5 separate regions of the Homo sapiens genome follow, and all the other regions are linked to region 4. The links are contacts of gene promoters, found by promoter capture Hi-C in blood cells and fetal thymus (Javierre and others, 2016). All regions are on one chromosome and are shown on one strand. The core of a region is centred on a gene start or on the middle of the fragment in contact, and the rest is flanking DNA. Distances in the headings are between cores, read along the strand shown. Region 1 overlaps DNAJB12 (DnaJ heat shock protein family (Hsp40) member B12). Region 2 holds the start of ASCC1 (activating signal cointegrator 1 complex subunit 1). Region 3 overlaps MICU1 (mitochondrial calcium uptake 1). Region 4 holds the start of MCU (mitochondrial calcium uniporter). Region 5 overlaps P4HA1 (prolyl 4-hydroxylase subunit alpha 1).

Region 1 (3,089 bases), core at 72-2,571, 350 kb before region 4:
AAAATACAAAAAAAAAAACCCCAAAAGACATTTAGCTGGAGATAGTGGTGGGCGCCTGTAATCCCAGCTACTCGAGAGACTTGAGAGGCTGAGGCATGAGAATTGCTTGAACCCAGGAGGTGGAGATTAGCAAGATTGTGCCACTGCACTCCAGCCTGGGCGACAGAGCAAGGATCTGTCTCAAAAAAAAAAAAAAAAAAAAAGTAGGCAGGATAGAGGTCTTTTTCGTTTTACATGAACAAAATTAATTTTGTTAATAAAAATTGACATAAAATTCTACATAATTCATGGATAAATCTGTAGTAATTGCTTTATTTTTCAGATAGTATACTTATACATATATCTCTTTTCTTAATAAATTTAGGCAGAATTCTGATATTCTGATAGTCTTCCAAAAGCACACTTGGTTTTATTAATAAACCCTATAGTACTTTATTTAGAGTTATTTTTTTTTATTTGTTTGTTTATTTGAGATAGAGTCTCACTCTGTTGCCCAGGCTGGAGTGCAGTGGTGCGATCTCAGCTCACTACAACCTCTACCTCCCAGGTTCAAGTGATTCTCATGCCTCAGCCTCCTGAGTAGCTGGTACTACAGGCACGTGCCACCACGCCTGGCTAATTTTTTTTTTTTTGACACGGAGTCTTGCTCTGTTGCCCAGGCTGGAGTGCAGTGGCATGATCTTAGCTCACTGCAACCTCCGCCTCCTGGGTTCAAGCAATTCTCCCGCCTCAGCCTCCCTAGTAGCTGGGATTACAGGCGCCCAGCACCATGCCCAGCTAATTTTTGTATTTTAGTAGAGATGGGATATCAACACGTTGGCCAGACTGGTCTTGAACTCCTGACCTCAAGCAATCCACCCATCTCGGCCTCCCGAAGTGCTGGGATTACAGGTGTGAGCCACCGTGCCCGGCCTAATTTTTGTATTTTTAGTAGAGATGGGGTTTCACCATGTTGGCCAGGCTGGTCTCGAACTCCTGACCTCAAGTGATCTGCCCACCTCGGGTTCCCAAAGTGCTGGGATTACAGGCATGAGCCACCGTGCCTTGCTAGAGTTCATTTAATACTACTTTAATTGCTATTTCTTTCAGTGTATTTGGTTTTACTCTGCTTTTTGCTTTTATGAATCCAACTTATGAATCCATTTTTTTCTACTGAACTCATTCAAATCTGCAAATATGTTTGCATTGCACCACATTTTGAATAAGTAAAATATTCAGTCCACTGCACTACTCCCTATTTTTACCATTGGTTTTTTTTTTTTTTCTTTTTTGAGACGGAGTCTCACTCTGTTGCCCAGGCTGGAGTGCAATGGCATGATCTCAGCTCACTGCAACCTCTGCCTCCCGGTTTCAAGCGATTCTCCCGCCTCAGCCTCCTAAGTAGCTGGAATTACAGGTGCACACCACCACGCCGGCTAATTGTATTTTTAATAGAGATGAGGTTTCACCATGTTGGCCAGGCTGGTTTCGAACTCCTGACCTCAAGTGATCCGCCTGCCTTGGCCTCCCAAAGTGCTGGGATTACAGGCATGAGCCACTGTGCCCAGTCAACCCTTCAGATTTTTAAGATCTCAAAGTAGTGAGTTTAACAGACTTGGCATGTTGAGTGCCAAGCTGGGAAAAGTACCCTGCAAAGGGGACCCCGCTTAGCAGGACCCTCTGTTTCAGGTGGGATCAGTCAGGAAGCCTTCCTGGAGGCCTTTGCTTAGCTGTAAAGAGGAATGGGGGAAATGAGTTTGCCCAAGGGGGACACAGATGGTAGGAGACCAAAAGAAGTATCTGCTGTGCTCACAACTTGCTATTTTTCACATTTTTCTAATGCAAGTGGTTGGCCATGCCAAATGTCCTCTTCAATGTCTGGAGTCTATACAGGACATTAACTATCACCCTCGGCAGCATCATGGCTATTGAAAACCAAGCCCGGCTGGGCGCTGTGGCTCACGCCTGTAATCCCAACACTTTGGGAGGCCGAGGCGGGCGAATCACAAGGTCAGGAGTTCAAGACCAGCCTGGCCAACATGGTGAAACCCCGTCTCTACTAAAATACAAAAATTAGCCGAACATGGTGGTGGGCGCTTGTAATCCCAGCTACTAGGGAGGCTGAGGCAGCAGGATGGCTTGAATCTGGGAGGCGGAGGTTGCAATGAGCCGAAATCATGCCATTGCACTCCAGCCTGGGCAATAGAATGAGACTCTGTCTCAGAAAAACAAAAACAAAAACAACCAAGCCCACCAGGCATGGTGGCTCACACCTGTAATCCCAGCACTCTGGGAGGCTGAGGCGGGCAGATCGCCTGAGGTCAGGAGTTTGAGACCAGCCTGGCCAGCATGGTGAAACCCCGTCTCTACTAAAAATACAAAAATTAGCCGGCGTGGTGGCAGGCGCCTGTAATCCCAGCTACTCGGGAGGCTGAGGCACAGAATCGCTTGAACCCGGGAGGCAGAGGTTGCAGTGAACTGAGATTGTGCCACTGCACTCCAGCCTGGGCAACAGAGCAAGACTCCATCTCAAAAAAACAAAAGCAAGCAAAAACAAGCCTGTGGTTCCTGCAGATTAAATGAGGAAGGGCCCAAGTCTCTGGCAGCAGGTCCCTGTGTCCATTTATTCCAGGCACGAAACCTCAGTCAGGCCTGGGCCCCAGCGCCCTGGGTAGTAAAATCCTAAAGCCTCTGACAAGCTGACCAGCTGGGAAAACAGGCATCTGGATCACTGCAGGGACCCAGCATCCCTCTGTGCTAAGGAAGGACAGCAGCACATCCCAGCACATTCCTTCAAACACGCCAGGTGCCTGCTGGCCTGAAGACGCCATGCTGGGTGCCACACCCACCAGTGCGACCCACTGAGGTCTGACCCAACAGGCTGAGAGCCAGTCTCACTGGGAACAGAGTATGGGGCTCCAGTGGAGCACTGTGCCCTGGGCCACTGCTGCCGCACTCCGAGCTTGTGTGATCTTGCTGAGTCTTCAACTGGGAAATCCAAACACAGGAGCTCACAGCTGGGGTTGCTCTGAGTAAGGGAGGCGGGCTCCTGTAGCAAACCCTGAGAGGGTGCTTGGGGAGGAACAATAGCAACAATCATTTTTCTTACC
Region 2 (2,886 bases), core at 192-2,691, 480 kb before region 4:
AGGAGTTCAAGACCAGCCTGACCAACATAGTGAAACCCCATCTCTACTAAAAATACAAAAATTAGCTAGGCATGGTGGCACGTGCCTGTAATCCCAGCTACTCGGGAGGCTGAGGCAGGAGAATCTCTTGAACCCAGGAGGCGGAAGTTGCAGTGAGCTAAGATCGCGCCACTGCACTCCAGCCTGGGCAACAGAGCACAACTCCGTCTTAAAAAAAGAAAAAGAAAAAGAGAAAGAGAAAAGGGCCAGGCATGGTGGCTTACACCTGTACTCCCAGCACTTTGGGAGGTTGAGGAAGGAGGACTGCTTGAGCCCAAGAGTTTGAAACCAGCCTGGGCAACATGGCGAAACCCTGTCTCTCAAAAAACAACAACAACAACAAAAAAAAGAGAGATTAAAAATAAAAGGCATTATAAATGCCCGTATATAAACACAGCCTGTCCATGGCTTTGAAAGAGAGAATAAAGGTCTCTTTATTACTTTAACCTAATGAGTAAAATGCAAACTTCAGTGGTTATCTAACCATTTGCACAATATCTCTTTTTTTTTTTTTTTTTTTTTTTTTGAGACGGTGTATTGCTCTTGTTGCCCAGGCTGGAGTGCAATGACACAATCTCAGCTCACTGCAACCTCTGCCTCCCGGGTTTAAGCGATTCTCCTGCCTCAGCCTTCCCAGTTGCTGGAATTACAGGCCCCTGCCACCACCCCCGGCTAATTTTTTGTATTTTTAGTAGAGATGGGGTTTCGTCATGTTGGCCAGGCTGGTCTGGAACTCCTGGCCTCAGGTGATCCACCCGCCTCAGTCTCCCAAAGTGCTGGGATTACAGGCGTGAGCCACTGCGCCCAGCAAACTCTTTCTATCTAGCAAGATAATTAAGACAATGAGGGATATTTAATACACTTAACCATCCAGAAAAAAAAAAGCCCCTAAGTACTTTTAGAGGTGCTAGAAATTCATACCAAACAATCAGTTCCAGTTGTCTGTTAAAGCACAGTTAAAATAACAACTTAACCAATATGGTTCTCAGACCAACATACTGCTGAAGGGGGGAATCCAATTTCCACAGGCCACTGCCCAACAAAATGCACATCGCTCACTGCGAAGCCAAGCTTCTGGTCACATCACTTAATGAATCAATAATTTAGGAAACAAAGGTTCCTTACAGGCTAGCTGAGGTTAAATTCAACCAATATTCCTACCACGTACAGCTTAGATAGTCTTGAAGCCCAAAATACTTAAAAGTTCCAAAGAAAACAAGTTGATCCTTACTAAATACACTAATGTTCAAGCCAACGTGGGCGCGGTGGCTCACGTCTGTAATCCCAGCACTTTAGGAGGCCGAGGCGGATCATCTGAGGCCAGGAGTTCGAGACCAGCCAGGCCAACATGATGAAACCCCGTCTCTACTGAAAATACAGAAAGTAGCCGGGTGTGGTGGCGGGCGCCTGTAGTCCCAACTACTGGGAAAGCTGAGGCACGAGAATGGCTTAAGCCTGAGAGGCGGAGGTTGCAGTGAGCTGAGATCGCGCCACTGCACTCCAGCCTGGGCGACAGAGCGAGACTTCGTCTCAAAAAAATAAATAAAATAATAATTGATGAGTTGTGCGCTTACAGAACCAAGAAGAGGTTTCGTGAGAAATAACAACACAGAAGGTAAACCGACATGGATGGAGGAAAAGGGCACATCATTAGCAATACTCGATGACATCACAACCCAGTGGCCTATTCCCCGAGGCCTCTAAAGTTCTCAACGAAAAAAGACTTTCAAAGGAAAAGCTTAAAAAAAAAATGTTCCCCACAAAAACAGACTAAGATGAAAGTCGGGCCCTCAGACCACGAGCTCCGGAAGAACAGGCAGTTGTCGCGGAGACAGCAAATGCAGCATCTACCTGTCCTACATGGCCCTGCGCTACGAGACTGCTCGGAAGGAAAGAGAGGAATAACCAACTTAACCCTGCTTCGAGGTGGTTTGGAGAGGAAGAGGAAAGCTGTGTCTTTCTGCAATATCGTGAGGGAAGCCGAGGCCCTGAATCATCAAAGAGAAGGAGAAGAGGACTAGGCGGCTGCAGGTAAACCAAGGTAGGGCGAGGAGGAGGACCCGGAATTCCTCTACGCGAGCGCGTTCTCTGCTCCCCTCCTCGCGTCTCCGCCCCGGCCACGCCCACCACGGCACGGGCGCGCGCACGCCGCCTTCGCCGCTGGCTCCGTCTGTTGGGGGGCGAACACGCCGCGGTCCTCGTCGTGGTGAGCGCAGCCACTCAGGCTGGTCCTGGGGGTGGGGCTGTAGGGGAAAGTGCTAAAGCCGCTGAGGTAAGAGGCCGAGGGGTCGAGGGCCCTCGGGAGCTTGGTGAAAAGGGAGTTAACCCCCAGGATCCTACCTGCAGGGACTAGAAAAATGGAGAAGGTAGGAGGAGAAACAGGAGACTGCTGCAGCAGACGTGCGATAGGAAATTTCCCCAGGCCGGGTTTGACCGAGTGCGCATGCGGGCCGAGGGCTGGCGCCTGCGCAGTGGGACAGCGCCGATGGCGTAGTTTCCTGGGGACCCAGCTGGGTGGGAAAAGTGGCTAGGAGTTAGCTTGGGAGCCGCTGGTGTTCTGAGCGCTCCCCTCTCTGGCCACTTTTTCTCCACGCCCACCCCCGCCCCGTTCCCGCCCCCCCCCCCCCCCGTTACAGCTGCGGCATCTATTTGGTTTGGGTTGTAATCCAGCTGTTTTGAAGTGGAACGATTTGTTGATGATGGAATTTAATGATTACTTGTAATAATTTGCCTTTGTACTAGGGTAGGAACTTTTAAGGAATTACTCTTTTTAAGAAAATAGGCATATATCTGTTAGAAAGGAAAGGAATTTATATTCATAAATATATGAATGCGAGGTCATCCCTG
Region 3 (2,870 bases), core at 298-2,797, 320 kb before region 4:
AGGCTCTTGAATTCCATTAGCCCAGCTTTCTGGAGGATGATGAACAACAAATACTGGCTGTGGGGTAAGAGAGGGTGGTAATATAGTAAATAAAACAGAGGGGGCAGTACAGTTTTAGTTCAAATCCTGGTTTTGCCATCTACTATTATCTTTTTTTTTTTTTTTTTTTTTTTTTTGAGATAGAGTCTCGCTCTGTCGCCCAGGCTGGAGTGTTGTGGCACGATCTCTGCTCCCTGCTGCCTCCCGGGTTCAAGTGATTCTCTTGCCTCAGCCTCTCGAGTAGCTGGGATTTCAGGCACGCACCACTGTGCCTGGCTAATTTTTGTATTTTTAATAGAGACGGGGTTTCACCATGTTGGCCAGGCTGGTCTTGAGCTCCTGACCTCAGGTGATCCGCCTGCCTCAGCCTCCCAAATACTATTATCTTTGTGACCTTAGGAAATCTACTTAACCTCTCTGAGTCTCAGCTTTCTCATCAGTAAAAAGTGGTCAATAACAATACCTAGGTCAGAAGATTAAATGAGCAGATTAACTTTCTGGCTCATAGTAAGCATTGAAAAAGTGTAAGCATCCGTTGTTATTGTTGTTATTAGTATATCAGCTACCATACCTAAAAAATAATGCCAAGGTCAAACCAGAACCAGATCTCTTGAATGGGCTAAATGACAGAGCAGAGTGGCCACAGACACAACAGACCACTGTGTGGAGCTGGAATGCTATGGAGATGGAATGCAACTGGCTGGAATGTGCCCTGGGTGGTGGAGAGATCAGTACTGCCTTCTTTCTAAAGACACTCAGATACCTGAGTGCTCCGTATCCGCTAAGTAGCAAGTTGAGTCTGACATTTTTGTTTCCATTTTTAAGATGCTTATGGTCATAAATTAATTTAGGCCTATAGGCATATTGGAATTATAAGAAGAAGAAATGGAAAACAGAAGCCAGGGCCAGGGGTTCGATTTCTCAGTATCATCATGCCAAGGGCTGAGGTGCTAATGTGAGAAAGGTGGGTAGCTTGAAGAGGATGGGCTGGTACACAGATGCTGTCCGCAAGGCTCCATTATACACAAGGGCCTCTAAGGGCAGCTAGGCTGTTTCCCCTCCGGGCTCCAGAGGGCCCCACTCACCATCACAGTCAAAGAGTGCAAACACCACATCACACACGTGGTCTGAGAGCTCCACTTTAGCCACTGTCCTGGCCACCTGCTGCATGGTCACTGAAAAAAGAAAGAGGTGCATTAGCACAGCAGAGGGATTTTCATTTTGCTTTCTCTGATTCAGGGGATAAAACGACTCAGTCATAATACAAGTTTTCAACTGCATTTAAGTCACATTTAAGAAAATGATAAGTTAGGCTGGCCACAGTGGCTCATGCCTGTAATTCCAGCACTTTGGGAGGCCGAGGAGGGTGGATCACCTGAGGCCAGAACTTCAAGACCAGCCTGGCCAAGATGGTGAAACCCTGTCTCTACTAAAAATACAAAAAATTAGCCGGTGCCTGTAATCCCAGCTACTTGGGAGGCTGAGGCAGAGAATTGCTTGAACCCGAGAGGCGGAGGTTGCAGTGAGCTGAGATCACGCCACTGCTCTCCAGCCTGGGAGAGTGAGACTCCGTTTCAAAAAAAAAAAGAAAAAATGATAATTGAGTTTTTATTCATAAGCTCCCTCCTTTTCACCTCAAGTTCTGTTCTTTTCTACTGCTGCTACAGTTTAGGAGGTATATATAGTTAATTAAGAATGCCTAGGCTGGCCAGGCGCGGTGGCTCATACCTGTAATCCCAGCACTTTGGGATTCCGAGGCAACATGGCGAAACCCTGTCTCTACAAAAAATACAAAAAATTAGCCCGGCATGGTGGTGTGCACCAGCTACTTGGGAGGCTGAGGTGAGAGGATAGCTTGAGCCCAGGAGGCAGAGGTTTCAATGAGCTGAGATGGCGCCACTGTACTGGAGTAACACTCTATGTAACAGAGTGAGACACTGTCTCAAAAAATAAAAAGTGCCTGATATTCAATTTATAGACAGAAAGTAGATTAGAGGTTATTGTGGGCTGAGGGGAATGGGGAGTTACTGCTTTATGTATACAGAATTTCTGTCTGGGGTGATGGAAAAATTTTGAAAATAGTGATGATGGTTGTACAACATTGTGAATGTAATTAATGTAATTCCACTGACTTGTATATTTAAAAATGGTTATAATGGCACATTTTATGCCATATATATTTTTATATTTATATATATATTTATAGAAATATATAAATGGGTGGTGGGAACAAGGAGGCTTGTCTGTGGTGTGAGTACACTAAGGCTTCACGCCTTGGTGGGTGAATGACAGCTAAGTGCCTGCACAGTGAGCCCTCCCTGCCCAACTCTGTCCCTCCTCCCTACTGGTTTTGCACCAGACTTCTTCCAACTGAGCCCATTGGTATATGCACTGGCCCTTGTCTTAACAGTTCAGGATGCGTATCTTTCTTTTTTTTTTTGAGACAGAGTCTTACTCTGTCCGCCAGACTGGAGTGCAGTGGCACGATCTCGGCTCACTGCAACCACTGCCTTCCGGGTTCAAACAATTCTCCTGCTTCAGCCTCCCAAGTAGCTGGGACTACTGGTGCCTGCCATCACGCCTGGCTAATTTTTATATTTTTAGTAGAGATGGGGTTTCACCATGTTGGCCAGGGTGGTCTTGAACTCCTGACCTCAGGTGATCTGCCCACCTCGGCCTCTCAAAGTGCTGGGATTACAGGGGTGAGCCACCACACTCAGCGGGCCCGGCCAATAGTTCAGGATGCATATCTTTCTTTTAAAAAATATATATTTTTAGACCTCAGCAAAAAATCACTTTTCTCTTGCCGTTTTCTCTTTCCCAGACATTCA
Region 4 (2,893 bases), core at 208-2,707:
TAAAGAATATTCTTAGAATAAGTGATAACATTTTCTTCGTATTTATGTGTGTGTTTTGTTTTTGTTTTAAATTTATCATCTAAGGCTACACTACAAAGATGTTTTCCAAAATTTAAAATAATGCTTGTATTTGCTTCCCAAACTATTTTCCTGCTCCAGATTTTAAAAAGAGGTGTGAGAATTTAATCAGCTCATAATAATAAACAGCTAGCAAGGAAATACTCTTCTAAGGAAATTCAGGACCCAAAATCTTTCTTAGGCAGTATTCAAGGAGCCCTCATTGTGAGTTTAAGTGGAAAGAAGTGTTTTTCAAGAGAAAGTGTTTGTTATTCCAAAGCGTATTCTGATAACTATTTCGGCAAAATTATGAAGCATCATTAAAATAGCCTTTTACATGAATTTTTTTTTTTTTTTTTGAGATGGAGTCTTGCTGTGTCGCCCAGGCTGGAGTGCAATGGCCCGATCTCGGTTCACTGCAAGCTCCGTCTCCCGGGTTCACACCATTCTCCTGCCTCAGCCTCCGGAATAGCTGGGACTATAAGCGCCCGCCACCACGCCTGGCTAATTTTTTGTATTTTTAGTACAGATGGGGTTTCACCGTGTTAGCCAGGATGGTCTCGATCTCCTGACCTCGTGATCCGCCCGCCTCTGCCTCCCAAAGTGCTGGGATTACAGGCGTGAGCCACCGCGCCCGGCCTTACATGATTTTTTATTACGTTATTAATGTGTTCTGTTTCTGTAAATGCACACAAAGTCAAATATGATAAAATAGTGCTGTTTCTGGAGAGTGTGAGAATATCCGTATAAAGGTGCTGTAAAAATGAATTGGGTATTTGAGATGTATACACGTCAGTTAATTCACTCTGAAGGCATGTACTCATTCTGGGACTTTGATATTGTAATCGTTCTACCTCTCCTATATTATGCTACGCATCACAGTCATTAGATCACTCCGTGATGTAGAGTTAATTTCAGCATATCTAAATATTATCAGTTATGAATGATAATTCTAGGCGTGTAGTTGAGAGTTACAGCATACACCGTTAATGGTTATTAATTTGGTGCCTATTTTGCCAACTTAGAACACTCACTTAGAACTCAACTTCGAACAAAGCTTTTCACAAATATCTATATCCCCCGTTACTCTTATCATAGCTCTATTGTTGGTGAAGATTAGCCGAACTGAACATGCCATCTCTATTGCTGTTATTTTCACGGGTTTGGGTGTCAATTATGGGTTCCCTAGAATTTGCCCGTAATTGACTATGTCCCACTATAGGTAACTCTGGAAGGGACTGGCAGCTTCCAGTGTGGTTCTCCCGCCTGTCGATTGGACCTTGCAGGAAGCCCCGCCTCATCAACTCAGTCAAGGGCTTTAGTTGGCCCGGCGTCGGTGAGTGGCGGGTCTTAGCTCCGCCCTGGCCGTCCGCTGCGCTGCCTGGGTCGGCGCCGTTTCCAGTTGAGAGATGGCGGCCGCCGCAGGTAGATCGCTCCTGCTGCTCCTCTCCTCTCGGGGCGGCGGCGGCGGGGGCGCCGGCGGCTGCGGGGCGCTGACTGCCGGCTGCTTCCCTGGGCTGGGCGTCAGCCGCCACCGGCAGCAGCAGCACCACCGGACGGTGAGCGAGCGCGCCCGGAGGCTCCGGGGAGGGCGGGGCGGCGCTGGCGTGTGGGAGCCGCCGGCGGGCAGGCCGCCGGGGCAGCAGGCGAGTTACCTCAACTCCCGGCCGCTCCGGAGGTTGCCGGGCACCGAGGAGCCGCCGTGCCCTTCAGGCGCCTGCGGCGGCGACCAGGAAGGGAGGGCGGGCGGGAGGAAGCCGAGAGGAGGAGGAGGGGCGACGGCGGGGATGTTCCCGCAGGACTGGGGACACCAGGGCGGGGAAGGCACGGGACTTGAACCTCTCCCCGACTCGCCCCCAATCGCGTTCCCTCCCTTCTTCGTTCTTAACAGCCCTGCCCCAAGGCTCCCTGAACGGAGCCAGATGGAAGTTGTCCCCTTTCCCTCCTCCTCCGGGCGGGTTGGGGAGTTCTGAGTTGCCGCGGCCGCCTTGTGTGTGCCAGGAGAGTGGCAGTGCCATGCTGCTGGGAGCTGCCCCGGAGAGCAGCCCAGGACCCCGGCGGGGCCGCCCCTCGTCCTCTCTCGTCCCCGAGGGGTCGGGCAGGAAGGAAAATCAAACTTTATTCCCCTCTGTGACTTCCTCTGTGTGTGTGCATGGGGAACCGGCTCCCTCGAGATGGATGCTGCATTGCTTCAGGAGGCAAGCTTCATCCTCTTGGGTCCTTAAAGGTGCTTTTGGGGGTCCTTTCGAGGGCTACTGTATAAGCGTGTTCACGCGTGCCTGAAGCGGGAAGGGTGGTCAGCAGGCACAGGAGAAGCGAATATGGTAAGTTGTTGACAGAGGCAGAGATTTGGTGGTTGTATTAACCAGTTGTTGCTGGGTTTCATTGGCTGGCAGAAAAAGAGGATTTCTGTTTGAACACTCTTGGGTGAGTGTGTGTGTGTGTGTGTGTGTGTGTGAGAGAGAGAGAGACAGAGTGTGAGAGAGATTTCTTTTTTCAATTGCAAGAGATGAATTTGGCATGGAGTTCTTAACCTAACAAGTCAGGAGGTTTCCTTCCCTTGGACTTTCTAGACCTATATGTGTTGGTCTCTGGCCAGCTCTGAGGGAAAGAATGTAGGTTTTATTTGCTGGGGCTGAGTTGTATAGTGTGATTATTGGAGGATCACTGCAAACAGCTTGATAGGAGAAACTACAATAGTACCTTCAACCCTCAATAAACACATCGCCTGCCTTGTTCTGATCATAACTCTTAAGAGGAAACTGAACTGGAGCTCTTCGGAGAGGATACTCCTAAGGCCAATGACAGCATCAAAATCGAGTGCCTGAAAGATCTA
Region 5 (2,715 bases), core at 215-2,714, 400 kb after region 4:
ATATATATATATATACACACACACACACACACACATACTCATTTTATTTGGATTTTTTATATATATTCATATATTTATACACACACAACACATTATGGTTTAATTACAAGATTCAAGATCTCACTGCAAGAAAAGCAATAAAGTTTAATGCCAAGAGCCTATGCAATTTATTTTTGTTTACTTCCAAGCCTGTTCCACTTTCAGAATGGAAAACCAAAGTTAAGTTACCATATATAGGAGAGGGCATGCAATGTGATATACTTTCACAGACTAGACAATTTAGCATTTCAACAATTCTAACAACCTATTAACTTTTGTTAAAACCCTTTTGGCAAAAATGTATTAGGGTCACCCACATATACAAGTCCAGTCAGACTTACATGCCCAGCTCGATTTTCAGAAACATTCAATACTGCCTCAAGACACCTAGATACCCTTAGAGAGTAACTTCACATCTCTTACTTTTTAGGGGTTCTTATAATAAAGTTCATGAATGGACTTGAGTGGGGGGGCAGGAAGTGACATACAAAATTCCATGTAGGGTGTATTTGCATTTTCTGACATAGGACCACACCTTTCATCAGATTCTCAAAGGATTTCATGACCTTAAAATAGTTTGAGAACCACTATTATGTATCTCACAGGTCAATTCAAGAGCAATAATTATATCCTAGTTGATAACTGGTTGCTAAGTAAAATAAAGCATTCCTTCCACAGAAAGGAAGGCTCACAAGCTTTATGGCTGTCCCAGCTCTTGCTGCATCTCTGGAATAAATGCCGTTTGAACTTAATTGCCCTACTGAAAAACACTGCTTTTCAGTATACAACTTATTCTGCACTAATAGAAAAGGTTAACAGCTCCTTGCCAAAAAGCCAAGATTCATCTGCAACAACCCAGACTACAAGGCAATATAAAACTTTTTTTCAATAGTCTTTTGCACTAATTTTTTTGGCATAATTAAAAGTTGTACACATTTTTCAACTGTTTTACCATCTAAGTTACCAAAACACAAAATGGCCAATGTAATTATCCGCCTACCAAAGTCCTGATTTTCAGTACTTCAAAATAAAACTCATTTCAAAATGTCAATAAAAACAGCACTACCCATTTAAAAGAGACAGAAATAGTCCTTTTCCTAGTTAGTCTATGTAAATCTAAGAAACATTTGTCATCAGCTATCAAAAACAATGGCAGGACTTAAGGCACAATGTCCCAAAACCAAAACTGACTATGAATTTTATTAAAGGTAAGTGATAAAGTCTCTTTTCCCACATAAAGAAAAAAGTAAAATTTGAAGTTCACATTTCAGATTCTTAAATTACGCTCACAAGCTAAAAAAAAAAAAAAAAAAAAAAAAAAATCACGGGGTGTGTATTCACATTTCACATGAAGACAAAATATAGTTGAGGTTGTTCACTTTCAGCTTCTTGAATATATCGTCTTAGGATACCGATTTTCTCCATAGAAACTTGATTCTAAAAATCCCTTTAAAATGTTTTTTAAATTAACTTCCAACGTTCCTGCTATGCAGACTGAATTCTTCATCTGATTATTTTAGGAAAAGACTAGCCTCATTCATAAGCTACGTCTAAACCTAAAAGGGGAAATACGTTTCTAACCAGAACTTTAAAAAAAAAAAAAAAAAAGAGTAAAAAATTGATGAAAGAACGCTGCTGCCACGTCTTTGCCCCTCCCCCCTTCACGTAGTGGCTATTTCATCCCCTCCGAGTGCATTCCAAGCGAAAGTCCGAGAACCACTGCTCTCGGAGAAACCAGAAACAGTTAAGTGGAAATTGGCAAGTCTCTTTGGCCTTTTAGATCAATTCCTAAAAGAGGATCTAGCTGCTTCTTCAACCCTTTCTTAAAGAAAACAGTGCAAAATTCCAAGAGTCTTCACTCTATCCGGAACGCGTAAGATGTTAGTGTCTAAACATTGAATTTGTATGTAACAGAGTCGATTATTTAGGAGAAAGAGTCTCACAGTTATCATACCATCCTTCCTCCCCATTGAAACATACATCCGGGGGCCAGCCATGTAATCCAACTCAAAATCCTCACACAACCATGGAATTTGTTGGACTGATGTGGACTTTTAAAAGCTGCAAATTCTCGGCAGAGAGAGACAGAGAGACAGAGATTGAGAGAAGAGCTCTTGTCTCTTTTTAAAAAAAGTTATGGGGAAGAAGAGGGAAGGAAGCTTCCCTGACGACGAGGTGACCTGAGAGCCTACTTCCTCGGCGCTACGAGCAGAAAGCTCGGCGCCCCGGGCTACGTCTGGCAGCTAATGCTGCACCGCTGCGCGCAACAGATGAGTTCAGCCGGAACTTTCTGGGGAGGTCCCCCCAGCTCCCGGCGACTTTCGATAGGGCAAAAATGCCTGGCGCGCTGCGGATCCAGCTCCAAGCCTTAAAATCCGCTCTCCACCGCCACATGCGAACCATCTGCGGCTGTGGCGGCCAAAAGCCCACGCCCCGCGCTTGCGTTCCCCTTAGCCTCGTTAGGGAGGACCAGGTGCAGGGGAACTTGGAAAAAAAAAAAAGCAACAGAGTGATTCCTCCCCGGGAAGGAAAATTCAAGAAAGTCCTGGTCCCTAGGGCGGGGACTGAGGCTGCAGCAGCCCCAGCGGTCCGAGGCGCACTAGGGACAGAGGTGGGAAGGGGGGCACGAAGGAGCGCGGGCGCCGGGAGTCGCGTGGCGCAGGGAGAGGGGCCGAG

What was found. The method cuts DNA at HindIII sites, captures the fragments that hold promoters and counts their contacts. A CHiCAGO score of 5 or more calls a contact.
Region 1: a contact is called between a fragment that was not itself captured here and the fragment with the promoter of MCU in region 4, in 1 of 17 cell types (neutrophils). The highest score is 5.6, in neutrophils.
Region 2: a fragment that was not itself captured here is called in contact with the fragment with the promoter of MCU in region 4 in 1 of 17 cell types (naive CD4 T cells); the score reaches 5.2 in naive CD4 T cells.
Region 3: a fragment that was not itself captured here is called in contact with the fragment with the promoter of MCU in region 4 in 5 of 17 cell types (megakaryocytes, M0 macrophages, M2 macrophages and 2 more); the score reaches 13.1 in megakaryocytes.
Region 5: a fragment that was not itself captured here is called in contact with the fragment with the promoter of MCU in region 4 in 1 of 17 cell types (fetal thymus); the score reaches 6.3 in fetal thymus.

Annotation. Positions count from the first base shown.
Region 1 is chr10:72,345,712-72,348,800 of GRCh38, forward strand. The region is part of intron 1 of DNAJB12 (DnaJ heat shock protein family (Hsp40) member B12); the gene reads right to left. Among named protein-coding and RNA genes, the nearest start is that of DNAJB12, 7.7 kb to the right of the region's middle. The HindIII fragment of the contact is 5,386 bases long and covers 1-3,089 here.
Region 2 is chr10:72,213,828-72,216,713 of GRCh38, forward strand. ASCC1 (activating signal cointegrator 1 complex subunit 1) reads right to left here and starts at 2,449. Exons shown (of 10, transcript NM_001198800.3): 1 at 2,380-2,449. It overlaps ANAPC16 (anaphase promoting complex subunit 16), which reads left to right and starts at 2,185. Exons shown (of 4, transcript NM_173473.4): 1 at 2,185-2,311. RefSeq lists enhancers at 1-187, 188-687, 1,847-1,966, 1,870-2,865 and a silencer at 2,087-2,276. The HindIII fragment of the contact is 667 bases long and covers 1,109-1,775 here.
Region 3 is chr10:72,374,659-72,377,528 of GRCh38, forward strand. MICU1 (mitochondrial calcium uptake 1) reads right to left here. Exons shown (of 12, transcript NM_001195518.2): 11 at 1,125-1,214. Among named protein-coding and RNA genes, the nearest start is that of DNAJB12, 21 kb to the left of the region's middle. The HindIII fragment of the contact is 6,523 bases long and covers 1-2,870 here.
Region 4 is chr10:72,690,686-72,693,578 of GRCh38, forward strand. MCU (mitochondrial calcium uniporter) reads left to right here and starts at 1,458. Exons shown (of 8, transcript NM_138357.3): 1 at 1,458-1,616. The coding sequence starts at 1,467. RefSeq lists enhancers at 1,076-1,135, 2,806-2,893 and silencers at 1,336-1,795, 1,886-1,935, 1,956-2,045. The HindIII fragment of the contact is 1,146 bases long and covers 1,113-2,258 here.
Region 5 is chr10:73,093,894-73,096,608 of GRCh38, forward strand. The region is part of intron 1 of P4HA1 (prolyl 4-hydroxylase subunit alpha 1); the gene reads right to left. Among named protein-coding and RNA genes, the nearest start is that of P4HA1, 1.6 kb to the right of the region's middle. RefSeq lists an enhancer at 2,354-2,715. The HindIII fragment of the contact is 1,464 bases long and covers 733-2,196 here.